3 separate regions of the Homo sapiens genome follow, and all the other regions are linked to region 2. Evidence: promoter capture Hi-C in 16 types of primary human blood cells and fetal thymus (Javierre and others, 2016). All regions are on one chromosome and are shown on one strand. Each heading gives the region's core, a stretch centred on a gene start or on the middle of the fragment in contact. The rest is flanking DNA. Distances are from core to core; before and after follow the strand shown. Region 1 has its middle 640 kb from the start of PTCHD4. Region 2 holds the start of OPN5 (opsin 5). Region 3 has its middle 57 kb from the start of ADGRF1.

Evidence for each region. Contacts are between HindIII fragments. The CHiCAGO score rates a contact against its expected background, and 5 or more counts as called.
Region 1: a contact is called between a fragment that was not itself captured here and the fragment with the promoter of OPN5 in region 2, in 2 of 17 cell types (M2 macrophages and M1 macrophages). The highest score is 7.0, in M2 macrophages.
Region 3: a contact is called between a fragment that was not itself captured here and the fragment with the promoter of OPN5 in region 2, in 1 of 17 cell types (total B cells). The highest score is 6.1, in total B cells.

The regions. Positions count from the first base shown.
Region 1 is chr6:48,744,157-48,748,506 of GRCh38, reverse strand. No RefSeq gene overlaps it. Among named protein-coding and RNA genes, the nearest start is that of PTCHD4, 640 kb to the right of the region's middle. The HindIII fragment of the contact is 210 bases long and covers 1,931-2,140 here.
Region 2 is chr6:47,778,950-47,783,527 of GRCh38, reverse strand. OPN5 (opsin 5) reads right to left here and starts at 1,496. Exons shown (of 7, transcript NM_181744.4): 1 at 1,332-1,496. The coding sequence starts at 1,461. The HindIII fragment of the contact is 3,260 bases long and covers 1,329-4,578 here.
Region 3 is chr6:47,097,168-47,101,860 of GRCh38, reverse strand. No RefSeq gene overlaps it. Among named protein-coding and RNA genes, the nearest start is that of ADGRF1, 57 kb to the right of the region's middle. The HindIII fragment of the contact is 419 bases long and covers 2,879-3,297 here.

The DNA of each region.
Region 1 (4,350 bases), core at 786-3,285, 960 kb before region 2:
TCACATATTGAAAGTCACATTATTTTATGTTTAAGGCATTTTTTTATTTCTGATTTTTATGACAGTTAAGACTTTATTAATTTTAAGATAATATCTGTGTAGTCAGGATATATTTTCAATAAATTTTATTTCAAAATAGTAAGGGGACCATGTAAATTATTAGTTTGGGAATTAATAGTCTGTAAATTATCCATTGGGATAGATGAAACTAAAAGCACCTTACATAATTCTGTGCTGTGTACTAGCTTTGTGTAGTAGACATCTGCATATTATGTAACAGAAGTACTGCAGCATATCTTATACAGACATATCAAAATTAATCTCCTTTTGTAAGTTTTACAAACTTGTTCCTGGTCCTGTTTTCAATTCCTCTTTATTAGGCTACACCTGTGAAAACCTATTTTTATCTCCCCACCAAACTTAATTATTGATAATAGCCTGAAACAAAAAGAAAAAAAAGGAACTGTATTTTACAATAAAATCATGGTTCGATATTCTCTTGATCTATATACTAAAAAATAAAACACCCAATTAAATGTGAGAAGACAAAGTGAATCAATAGACCTATATTAACATTTTAATGAAATTTTGTTTTCTCACCTTAGTTCTGCTTATATATCAATTGATACACAAGCCTCATGGTTGATAATAATGTTGGAGTATTAAATATTACTTGCAGCACTTACCTTTTCCCAAAACTTCATGTACTTTTTTCATAAGCTAAGGATAAATTCCCTACAGACTCTGTGAAAGACAGTCAAGTGACCTCAGTGTGTGTGTCTTTTAGATGTGTCCCTGGATAAAGTCAGGTGCTTAACTGCTAGAGAATTTCCTGGAGGCAAAGTATAAATACAGAAACTTAGAAACCTAGGCAGTCACTAGATTCATCCCTGCCAGTGCAGGAAATTCCACCTCCCTCATTTAATTCTTCCCATCTTTGATGTCTTAATTTTTTTCTCTGACATAGTTGGCCAGTATGGGTGCATACTGATGATAAAAGGCTGTGCAGCACACAAGGACATTCATTCAAATTGGAAATGACATTGGGATAATGTTAAAAAAAAGTCTTAGGACAATTTTATAACCAAATGTCTAATTGTAAGTGAAGGGGTTTAAGTAGAAAGAGGAAGAATGAAGTGAGATTTAGTGATGCAATACAGAACCCAAGAGAAACCGAGAAGGGTTTGTAATGCAAAGCTACATGATGTAAACTTTATGAGAACTTTAATGCAGTTGTAAGAAAATGCCCTTGAGCCAAGTAGTTTAATTATAGCAATATTTTTGAGGTTCACGTTATAAAAAGGAAAGTCAAAAGATAAATATTTATTTAGAGTTGTTAGGCAATAGTATGAGCTAATGTATTTCAAAATTCCATCAAGACTATGCAGTGTGACCACCATGGCACAGGTTTACCTATGTACCAAACCTTCTCATCCTGCACATGTACCTCAGAACTTAAAAAATGTTGAAAAGAAAATTCCACAAAGAAAATTTCCACAAAAGATAGTGTTCTGTTAATTGCACAATTGTAGGTCTAGTGTAAGATTTCAGTTGTTTTAAGAAAATTCTGTTTTTTTTACAAACTGAAACCAAGGGGATTTTTTTTTTTTTTTTTGAGGGAGTCTCGCTCTGTCGCCCAGGCTGGAGAGTAGTGGCGCGATCTCGGCTCACTGCAAGCTCTGTCTGCCGGGTTCACGCCATTCTCCTTCCTCAACCTCCTGAGTAGCTGGGACTACAGGTGCCCGCCACCACGCCCGGCTAATTTTTTGTATTTTTAGTAGAGATGGGGTTTCACTGTGTTAGCCAGGATGGTCTTGATCTCCTCATCTCGTGATCTACCCGTCTCGGCCTCCCGAAGTGCTAGGATTACAGGCGTGAGCCACGGCGCTCGGTCGGGGATTCTTAACTCACAAATGTTTACACTGAAGCTTTATTATTACTATTACTGATGTGAAATAGAAGACTTCCTGTTTCTAAATGCACACTACCAGGAACAGATTAGAAAAAAAATATTGATTATTGCTCGTAAGTCTACTAACCTGCCATTTGTTTGGATGCACATGTCATCTCTAACAATATTGTTAGTTACATGAATGGAGATGTAGGAAGAATAACATTCCAATGGGTGGTTAATAAAGCTTAAAAATACCAATACGCATTAAAAATTATTTTGAATACTGAGTAAATGCCAACATGATAAGATAGGGTTTTGATTAAAAAATCATTTTTAACTTGTATTTTAAGTTCAGGGGTATATATGAAGTTTTGTTACATAGGTAAACTTACGTCATGGGGGTTAGTTGTATAGATTATTTCATCAACTAGGTATTAAACCTGGTACCCATTAGTTATTTTTCCACATCCTCTCACTCCTCCCACCCTCCAATCTCTGAAAGGCCCCAGTGTGTGTTGTTTTCCCCACACATCCATGTGTTCTCATCACTTAGCTCCCACTTATAAGTGAGAACATTCAGGATTTGGTTTTCTGTTCCTGCATTAGTTTGCTAAGGATAGTGGCCTCCAGCTTCATCCATGTCCCTGTAAAGGACATGATCTCATTTTTTATGGCTGCATAATATTCCATGGTGTATATGTGCCACATTTTCTTTACTCAGTCTATCTTTGATGGGCATTTAGGTTGATTCTGCTACTGTGAATAGGGCTGCAATGAACATATGCATGTATGTGACTTTATGATAGAATGATTTGCATGTTTGGGGGTATATAACCAGTAATGGGACTCCTGGGTTGGATCGTATTTCTGTCTTTAGGTCTTCGAGGAATCACCACACTGTCTTCCACAATGGTTGAAATAATTTACACTCCCACCAACAGTGTATAAGAGTTCCTTTTCCTCCATAACCTCATCAGCATCTGTTAATTTTTGCCTCTTTAAAAATAGCTATTCTGACTGGTGTGAGATGGTATCTCATTGTGGTTTTGATTTGCAATGTTTTTGATTTGAATGTTTTTTCATAAAAATCATTATTCATTCCTTCATTTAGTACAAATTTGATAAATGGTCACTATAAATTATAGAAACTTCTTAGTGTTTTTGTCGGTTTCTCTTTGTAGATTAGAAATTGCCTAATCTCTTTCATGGGTCTCTTCTCTTTCTAATGAAAACTTTCATTTGCCTCTCTCTCTAATTTTTAAAGCTTAATATTCCATCAAATGTCTAATGAATCCCAAATTTATATTTCCAAACTATGCTTCTTTGCCCAAACTTCTACTCAACTCCTTCAATTGTGAGGCTTTAAGCAAGCCTCAAACTCAGCATTTCCAAAACTGAATTGAACAGTTTCCTCCTAGAAACTTGGTCCTAGTCCAGGTTTCTCTACAGCATAGAAAAGAATCCCAATTCCTCCAGTTGAGCAAGACAAATCTGAGTCATGCTTTAATCTTTCTTCTACCTTATCCTTACCTCCCATTTCCAATCTAACATTGAGGGCTTTACTTTATCTTTACCTTTGCTTTACCTCAATATATTTCTCAGTTCTGTATACACACCTACAATCAATAACCTCTGCTTACCATATTCTTGAGAAGAATTTGGAGGCATGCTAAAATTCTCCCTTTTCTTCCATTATTTCTCTCTACAGTCCAGTCTCCACACTGTAATCAGAGTGCAAAAAGAAAATGTTCTTCTCTCCTTATTTTCAGCTAGCTTTAATGTAATATAATTGACATAGAACAAACTGTACATATTTCAAGTGTAAAATTTGATACATTTTGACCTATGTATAACCCTTAAAACCAATAAAACAATCATGATAATGAATGTAACTATTAGCCTCAAAATTTCTCTTGTGTACATTTTTTTCTTTCTGCTTCTCCTCTTCATCCACTCCTCCAGCTCCAGGCAACCACCAATCTTCTTTCTGTCACACGAATTTGTTTGGACATCCAGGAGTTTTATATAAATGGTATGCAGTGCGTGCATTTTTCTGTCTGACTTTCTCAGCCTAATTAGTCTAAGGTTTATCTATGCTGTTGTGTGTAACAATATTTTATTCCTTTGTATTCAGAGCATTTCATTTTTCCTTTTAAATAACAGTATTTTTAATTGAAATATCAAAAAAAAATTATGAATTTGAGAAATTCCTGTCCTAATATGAGACAAACGAAATATTCTGCATTTATTAGGGAAATATTAAAACCTTAGAAAAGAAAAATTCAAAAATGAAATAAATATAAATCTGTCAAAACACATACATTTGATGTTTGTAATAGTTTTCTAGGGCTGCTGTAGCAAAGTATCACTTAGTTTGTGATACTTTGTTACAGCATTTCATTTTATGGATGCACCACTGATTCTTTCTTTATCTATTCCTGTTAAGATGTTACATT
Region 2 (4,578 bases), core at 247-2,746:
TCCTTTTGCCTCAAGTACTGACCATAGAGGGATATCAAGTATTTTCTAATGAGTTTTGCTACTTTCAGGAGGTTAAATGAAATTCTTAGCCAGTAATAAATAGATGAGAGAGGGAGAAAAAGAGAGAAAGGGAGGAAGGGAAGAAGGGTGGAAGAGAAAGATAGAAACAAAGAGAAAAGAGAGAGAGAGCAAGTTTGACCCAACATCTGAAAAAATTAAAGGCAAACAAACCTAAAGACATAACCCACCTTCACACTGGTCACCCAAAGTTAAAACAACAATTTTAAATTTAAGAAAAGTATGGTTTCTTTTCTTAAATTTAAATAGGTGGTTAAATTAAATCCTAACTGTCTAGATTAGTGCTATCCAGTATAAATGTAATGTAAGCCAGAAATGCGAGCCACATATGGATTCTAAAATTTTCTGGTAGCCACATTAAACAAAGTAAAAATTTACAAAGTAAAAATTTAATTTATAAATTTAAAATTTACAGTAAATTAATTTTAATAATATATTTTATTTAGCTTAACATACCTAAAATGTTGTATGTTCAACATGTATTTAATTTTTAAAAATTATTAATGAGATATTTTATACCACTTTTTGTTGTACTGAGCCTTCAGTATCTGGTGAGTATTTACACTACAGCAACTTTCAATTTGGAAAAGCCACATGTGGCTACTGAATGAATGAGATCATGCAGTCTAGAAGCAGGTGCACCCTTTCGTCAATTATGCACAAAAATCTTTTGACCCCGGACTTTCTTCCATTTATCACCAACACATTTTTCAACTGTCACCAAAATGGCTTAGCTATTTTGATGCGACTTTACTTTTAGGTGAAGTAAACTCAGTGTTTCTGCCATTACTATAGTACTATAGCACAATAGCACAATTGAGTTTTGCACAGTTGTGAGAACAGGAGACTGACCTAGATTATTTTTAAGGCCCATTCTCAACCTAAAACTTATGATTATGTCAAAAACATTATTTAAAAAGCACTCTGTTTAAATAAAATATCATTATCATTAATTTTGGTATTCAGAAAGTAAATCTACTCCCAAAGTAACCAAAATGAAATGGATAAATAATTTTGCTGTAAGAGTTCTTGGATTATCAATGGAATTTTATTCCTAATAATAATGATAATAAAGAGTCATTTCTAGGAAACATTTATTGAATGCCATAATGCCATTCCATCTTCTGCCTTTCCCCACTCTTCGCCTCCACTAAACTATCCACTTAAGTATCAGAATCCTTTCACAAAATTAACATATCAGCCCATGAATTTTCTAAATGCAGCCTTTGCACAGAAGAATTAAGGAAGCTTACCAATTATTGTTAGGTAAAAGCCAGCCACTAAATCCGCTTCCCAAGAAAGTTTGGAAGCAAAAGGATCCCCATCTCGAAGGTAATGGGGCAGGCGCTCGTCCTGAGGCAGGGCAGTGTGATTTAACGCCATTCTGTTCTCGAACCACGAGGGATCTGAAAAGCAAACCAGTAGAGATCTCAGCAGACCTGAATAAGCCAGCTTGAACCATTTCATAATCGTGGCTCCTGTTTTAAAACAAAAAGCAAGTTCCCAGGGTCATGCATGATTCTCTAATTAATAACTGGTAAAAATTTTAACATTTTTTTCAATGATCCAATTATGTCATTACTCAGTTATTCGGTTGGCAGATTATCCAAGCCTTCATTTTCTCCTCTGTTTTCTCATGCTACTCTTTGAGCCACTTCTTTTCTCCTTGGGGTGATTAAAAGGTTGAAGGCCAAACTGTGCAATTTACTGTTTCTTAGCAATTTTTGTAAAGGTCTGAGCAGGAAATGATATTGTATGGAGTGTGCACACATACACACACACACACTATATATATATAATTTATGTATATAAATTATATATAATATATAAAAAATTTACATATGTATATATATAACTTGTCAGAATATAGTATTTTTTGATTATCCAGATTTCCCAGAAAATCATTTCCATTGTACATTCAATGAGGTTTAGAGTTTTGTAAGGAAAGAAATAGAGCATTCAGTACAAAGGAACATGGACACTTAATTAATTGAAGCTAAGAGCTAGGTGATTGTCAAAGTGATCTTGAAATTTGGAGCTATTTAGAAAGGATTCAAGCTGGGTTGTAACTCACAGGCACATCCACAGGAAGGTTTGTTTCTCAAGTTTCCTAGAGCAGAAAGCAATTTCATTATTTCTCACCACTGCCCCAAATCCATACTTTCTATTTGCTCATTTATGCTTCTGGATGAAATCTTGAGCATTGAGGAATTTCTCAGATACACAGGTCTTAGTACTGTTTCTTTTGAATTGGAGTTTTAAAAGGTTTACACAAAGTCTTTGATGGGCTTTCTGCAAAAATAAAAGTCACATGATATCCCTCATCCTGAAACTTGGAGTCGTGTGTTGTTCTTCAGATAAAGTATGCTGCTGATGTTAAAACTTCCTTTGGAAGGGTCATTCCTTTGTCATGATTGTTCCTATTTGTTTTGAAAGGGGAAGAAATACTAGTGTGGCTGTTTCTCTTTTGAACTTGCCTATTTCAAATCGAACCAACAGATGTCACTGTTCAGCTCTCTAGGCAACAATTTCGGGCATTATATGAGACAGCAAGTGGAACACAGAGTTGTGTGCCCCACAGGCGGTGACAGGGTGATCGGCACATATCTAACCATGTAATTCACCTTCGCAAAAGACATGAATTTAACCCCTTTCTAACTGCCAACTTACAGCTTACAGAGGAAGGCTAGTGACCCTTTCAGTGGCCAGTTGGCTGAAACTACAGTCTCCTACACACAGTTTGAGGACAGTCATGTGCTAATGTTCATTCCAAATCCTTCTCCCTGAGATGGTTAGAAAGCTGTAGGAGAAATCTTTGGCTGCCAGATGCACCACATCCCAAGACCTACCCCAGGTGAAAGTTTATCTTTACCTTTCAAACTCCTGATTCCCCTTTGACTGCCTCTTGTTCTGGTAAACTCTCTCCTCCCCAAAGATTGCCCCCGCCCAACTGGCTGTCCAGTCCTGTCCTCCACCTTAGCTTCAGAATCATAAGATGAAGGTTGGAGTCCAGCTGTGATACCCACCCTCTGATCTTGAGCAAATCATTTAAACTTTCTGAACTGCAACCACTTCATCTGTAAAATGGGCAGTCTCCTTCTTACCTGTCACTCATGCTTGTTGTAGGAGCAATAGGATATCGGACTCGAAAGCATATTATGAATGGGGGGTCCTGTATATTTATTATATGCTGAGATGCTTACTTTTCCCAAACTTGCCTATCCATCAAGATATAGCTATTGTATAAGAGATTTCCTCAGGGTCCCATGCTGAATCAATGGATGCTTGTGTGTTAACTCAAGTATTCACTGAACATCTACTACAAACCCAGCATTATGAGGTAGGACAACAGAGGTTTACCATGTTATCTAGACTTAGGGAGGGTATCTATCATTTTCTGGACAGAGAAAAGATGCAACTAATGGTCAGAAAATATAATAATAATACAAGAATATAAAACAATAAAATGCTGCTTTACTTGGTTTTAGAGAATTTTTTTGAGATAGGGTCTCACTCTGTTGCCCAGGCTGGAGTGCAGCGATGTGATCAGTGCTCACTGCATCCTCGACCTCCTAGGCTCAGGTGATCCTCCCAACTTAGCCTCCCGACTAGCTGGGACCATGGCACACGCCACAACACCTAGCTAATTTTTTTTATTATTATTATTTGTAGAGACAGTATCTCTCTATGGTTCCCAGGCTGATCTCAAACTCCCGTCCTGGGGTCAAGGGCTCCTCCCACTTTAGCCTCCCAAAGTCCTGGGATTACAAGTGTGAGCCACTGAACCTGGCCTAGACAATAATTTTTAAAGCAAGGAAATAATACTATTTTCTGAGGAATTAACTAGACTGTGTGTGTAATATCAAGAAGTGTCCTTCCTATATCGAGAAGTACCCAGGCCTTGCACAGCCTAAGACTCGATATGTTAATAATGAAAATGATAACATAAAACTTCACTTGAGCCCCCAAGGGGCTTTAATAAGCAACGAAAACAGTAGAGAATATTTTCAGTAAGAAAATGACATGAGCTAAGATTTGGAGGAAAAAATGAACATAAAGTGTATAAGGGATGGAAAAAGAGTTGTTCCATGGGAACAGAGTTCATCATGGAGAGAAGTGGTAGCCATCTTGGCTTGGTAAAATGGGATCTTGTCCTGTAGAGCCTTGCCTGCCTGGCAGAAGAGTTGCTTTTGACATATCATAGGTGGACTTATTTTTTTTCTGACACTGATCAAAATTAATGCTATTGTTTAAGTTTGGAAATACAGTGTTTGAGAGTTTCTAGTTCTTTTCAAAGACACAACTTAGACACAACTCTTCCTGAGGAACACTGCGAGAAAGAGGCAGAGAATCCTAAATACATGGTTATTTGGGAATTCTTTTTTTTTCCACTCTTCTTTATACATTACAAACTCATTTTTCAACTTCACACTTTACACTTATTTTCCCCATATGTAATTTGTGTTCCATTTCTTCTCAGTCTATCCAAATTCCACTTGA
Region 3 (4,693 bases), core at 1,839-4,338, 680 kb after region 2:
AGAAAAGATGTTGATGAAGGGTAGGATCAGTATGACCTATGTAAGAGTCAGAGAAGTTTGTTTCTACCCTAGAATGCTTTCCAACCAAATTTATTCAAGTAAATTGAGTCTTAGCAGGAAAAGGGGTCAATTAGCTAGATATTTTACTGCTGTTGGTTGTCAGAAAAATGTAAGCCAAGAAATGATTTTGTTAACAACTCATTTAAAAGATGAGGAAAGTGGAAAACAAAGAGAAGGGACAAGTTCCTGCAGGCAATTAGAGATAGTTGGGGATAGGAGGGGATCGGAAGGATCTGCCTGACTATGGGTTTTATTTTCCAGGAGAACACTCAATTTGAAAACGTGCAGCAACCTCTGGGTTACTAGTGGCACCATAAGTACTCAAAATGTTTATAATAGTACAGACCAGGGGAAAGATACAATTGGGGTTTCGGCTAGAAAGTTTGACTGACAGCTACAATAGCTCCCTGGCTTTTAGCATGAGCCACCCTTTCTACTGCCATGTACACCAGGCTTTGAAGGACAGATGGGGGAAAATTCCAGGAAAGCTACTAGTTTGAAATTATGCCCATTATCAGCTTCAGTGATGAATTCAACTTTCTCTATTGTTTGGATCTCAATCAAATATTGAGCTTAGGTTATACCCTCCTTGAAGTCATAAATTTGAACTAATCCAAACCTTAAAGTCCTGTAAATGTTCTTAATAAATTATTCATCCAGCTTTCACTTAACAAATATTCTCTGAGTAGCAACTATGTGCCAGGCAGTGTTGTAGGCCTGAAAAAAGCAACTCAAAATGCCTACTCTTCTGGAGGTGACCTTCACAAGGACATCTATAGTGTTTGTATATGCTGTATTTTTTTGTCTGTAACCATAATGAGATCATGAAATGTGAAATGTGAACCAAGAACAAAAGGCACTGATGGAGAAGGAGGACCCACTAGGGGCCTCAGCAGGGAATGCTTCCCAGATCTGGCCGTGCATGAGAAATAGCAGGGGAGGCATAAGAAGTAGATTTTGGGGCCTCACCCAAGACCCATGAAATCAGTACTCTAGCCGTGAGATCCAGAAATCTGCATTTTTCAAAAGCTCCCTAAGTGGTCGTGATGTGGCCATTTCAGAACTGGTTCCCAGATCTGTGTTTAGAAATCACTGAGCTAAATGTTCTCTTGATGCCTGTGTCAGTCAGGGTTCCAGCAGGACAAAAAAGGTACTTCCTGTTGGATAATTTGAGGAGAGTTCGCAAAGGGATGATTTACAAATGGGTGGTTGGACTGTTGAGAAACCTCATAGAAGGGTGCAGAACCCTGAGGCTGGTAACCCACCGCAACAATTAGCATCCCTAAATGTGAAGACAGGAGGCAAATGGGGTTCCCAGAACCAGGAGACAGACGACTGAGGGTAGAAGGCCTCTTGACAGGACCTCTGCTCTTCAGTTGAGAGACACAGCCAGCTGATTTAAGCCAAATCCAACCAGAATCCAGAAGGCAAGAATGCCTATTCTTGGAGACCACATAGGCCAGCCTACCAGGCACAGAGAACAAAGGAAGATGGAGGGTGAATCTGGAGGAGCAAATGAAGACATTCAGCCCAAGGTCCTTTTCTGCCATGGGAACATATGAAAATAAAATGGGACTGGAAATAGGTCTAAATATGTATTACTAATATTTCATAACAAAATTGTTTTCCTGAACTGTGTAACTCTTTTTTTTTTTTTTTTTGAGATGGAATTTCTCTCTTGTTGTCCAGGCTGGAGTGCAATGGTGTGATCTCAGCTCACCGCAACCTCTGCCTCCTGGGTTCAAGCGATTCTCCTGCCTCAGCCTCCCAAGTAGCTGAGATTACAGGCATGCACCACCACGCTTGGCTAATTTTGTATTTTTAGTAGAGACGGGATTTCTCCACGTTGGTCAGGCTGGTCTCGAACTCCTGACCTCAGGTGATCCGCCCACCTCAGCCTCCCAAAGTGCTGGGATTACAGGCATGAGCCACTGTGCGCAGCTGCTCTGAGCTAAGGCTCCTTATTGTCTCTACTTGGTACCCCCAGGGACAACAAAATGCCAGGTTTTGTTTTTGCTTTTGTTTTTTGATAGTAGTTAATATTTCTTGAGTACTCATTATATTCCATACATTGTGATAATTTTATTTGAATTTGTAGAACAACATTTCAAAGTAGGTGTTATTATTTTAAAGAAAAGCAAATTAATGTAAAGAAAGATTGAGAAATTTACCTTGGGTCACACAGCATGTAAGCAATAAAGCCATGATTTGAAGCTAGATCTGTCTTCTCTCAATGCCTATGCTATTAGCCTTTTTGCTCTCTTGTTAAGCCTACCAAGGAAAACGTAAATTCCACTCACTCTTGGAAACTTGGGAGCCTATGTTCCAGGCAATTTTGTCAAGAACAAAAAAACACAATTTCTTGTACTCTTGTAGTTTCGTATTCATTCATGACTTACCAATGTATTTGTTAAATATTACATATCTTCCCATTCATACTCAGAAAGCAACGTGGGCCTTGTAGATCGAGTGTTTATGATTTTAGACATTCTTGATTCAGGCCTTAGCACTAGGATGGTACATTTTCTCTGTGCTCTGCTGGTGCTTCTATGCCCAGAACAGAGCTAGGATGACCAACTGTTCTATTTGTTCTGGACTGAGCAATTTCCCAGGACATGAACATTTCAGTGCTAGAACTGGGACAGTTCCAGGCAAACTGGGATGATTGATAAATGCCAGGTTTTAAAAATACCTCCGATTTAGTACGGCAGCCTCAGAAATTCTAAAGCCACATTGAAAAAAAGATTAAACTATTTTTTCTTCACATTATTCTATGATTCAGGTTCTGGTTACATCTATCCCTGTGTTATCCTAAGCTTAATTTCTAGCCCTTGCTTACTACAAATAAGTTGCGGCACAGAAGTTGCATGATAAGACAGGCAGGGAATTGCAACACCACAAGTCATCTTGGCATCCAAATACGGCAAGTGATGAAGGATGTAAGCCGTCTTCAACATAGCCCAGATCCCCATCTCTTACAATTTTAGTCCTAGACATCTGACACTTGGCTCAAAATGCACCGTGCTTATTTCACTATGTTGTAATTGCTTGTTTATTCCTTGTCTCCCTTGTTAGACAGAAAGATAATTGAGGGCAAGGATCTAGCAATCTCAAGATTTAGAACTGGACCTGCTCCATGAGATTAGCTCAGTGACTCATTGGGGAGCATCTCGGGATACGAAGAGGGCACATTTACTTGAGATTTGTTTCTGAACTTTCTTGATTCATTATGAAGCTTGGCTCTTTGTATCATCCTTGAAATACATTAGGCACTTGAAGTAGGCATGGGGTTGGGGGATCTCACATTATAGGAGAGTTTCCTGCTAAGTTTAGTTTCCACACTCATCCCCCATAGACTGATCTGGCCTGGAGACTCTACCCACTCCCCGCAATTCTGTAGGAATCAGAGTTACAAGAGTGAAGAGAGCCCTAGGGCTTCTTGGTTAGCTAACTTTCTGACTCTGAAGTGGCCTTTACTCTTCCTTGTTGTTTGAGGGAATGCCAGACAAATGAAAAAAATTTATTTTTTAGGGGGGCAAATATTGAATTCAAGAAAGTGGTGAAACTTCTTTAGAAAGTTTCGCCTAGAAATCATGCCATCCTGTATAGTATCATTAAAGATAGAGAGAAGGATGGCAAAAAAAAGAACTAGCTTTACAAAGCACTTATTTTGTGCTAGGTACAATGCTACCTTTTTACATACCCAAATGAAATGATGACATGCCACAATATTACAAGATTAATTATAATTTCCATTTACAGGTAAGCTTGCAGTGTGGTTGTATAACTTGCCCAAGGTCATAAGAAACAGAGGTGGGATGTCAAATCAGGTTTTTAGTCTGTAAACTCATGTCCGTGTTTGGTAACATGTAGCATCACCTCCCGATGACCTTGAAAATCTCTGGACTGGCTCCTGGGTCCCAGATTTCTCTCAGCTTTCTGATGTTACTCAGATACTGAACGTAACCAGGAAATATTGGGTTAGTTTCCAGAGAAAGTCTATTAGAGGCATAGTGCTAATGATAGGATGGTGGGGAAAACATCTCTAAAGGGAAGGAATGAACAGCATGAGCCATGGTTTGGGAGCTTCCTTATAATATATGGGGGAAAAGACTCCATTTATAAATGCTCATAAGGTCTCTGGTTAAATTCCATCATATAAATTATTCGCAGAGAACTGCTCAGGATTTCCCCTCCCTGCAGGGTGAACAGCTGGCCTTCTGCAATGCCAGGCCTAGGTCTTCCGGTTCTTTGAGGATCAGTGCCCTCTGCAGGTTGAAGTCAGAGAAGCCAAAAGCATGAGAATAAAAGGACAAAGAGTTTTCTGCTCCTGTTCCTTCTCATGTAAGTGCTTGCCTCAAAGTACATTAAAGACAAAGTCTAGGGGACTTTGGAGGAAATATTTTTCCTTATGTGACCTTGAGTGTGAAATGTCATGGAACCACTGGGCAAGTGATGAAGAAACCAGTTGGTTCCTCGAATTCATCCTCATGATGCTGATTTGTTCCCCGCCGTCCTTCCTGCATGTTCCATCCTGTTTAACTGTCTCAGTCCAACGGGGCCTCAGCAACAACCCTTCAACAGTGGGGAGAATTTCCCAATGGAAAGGCAGTACAAATACACACTGGAGGAC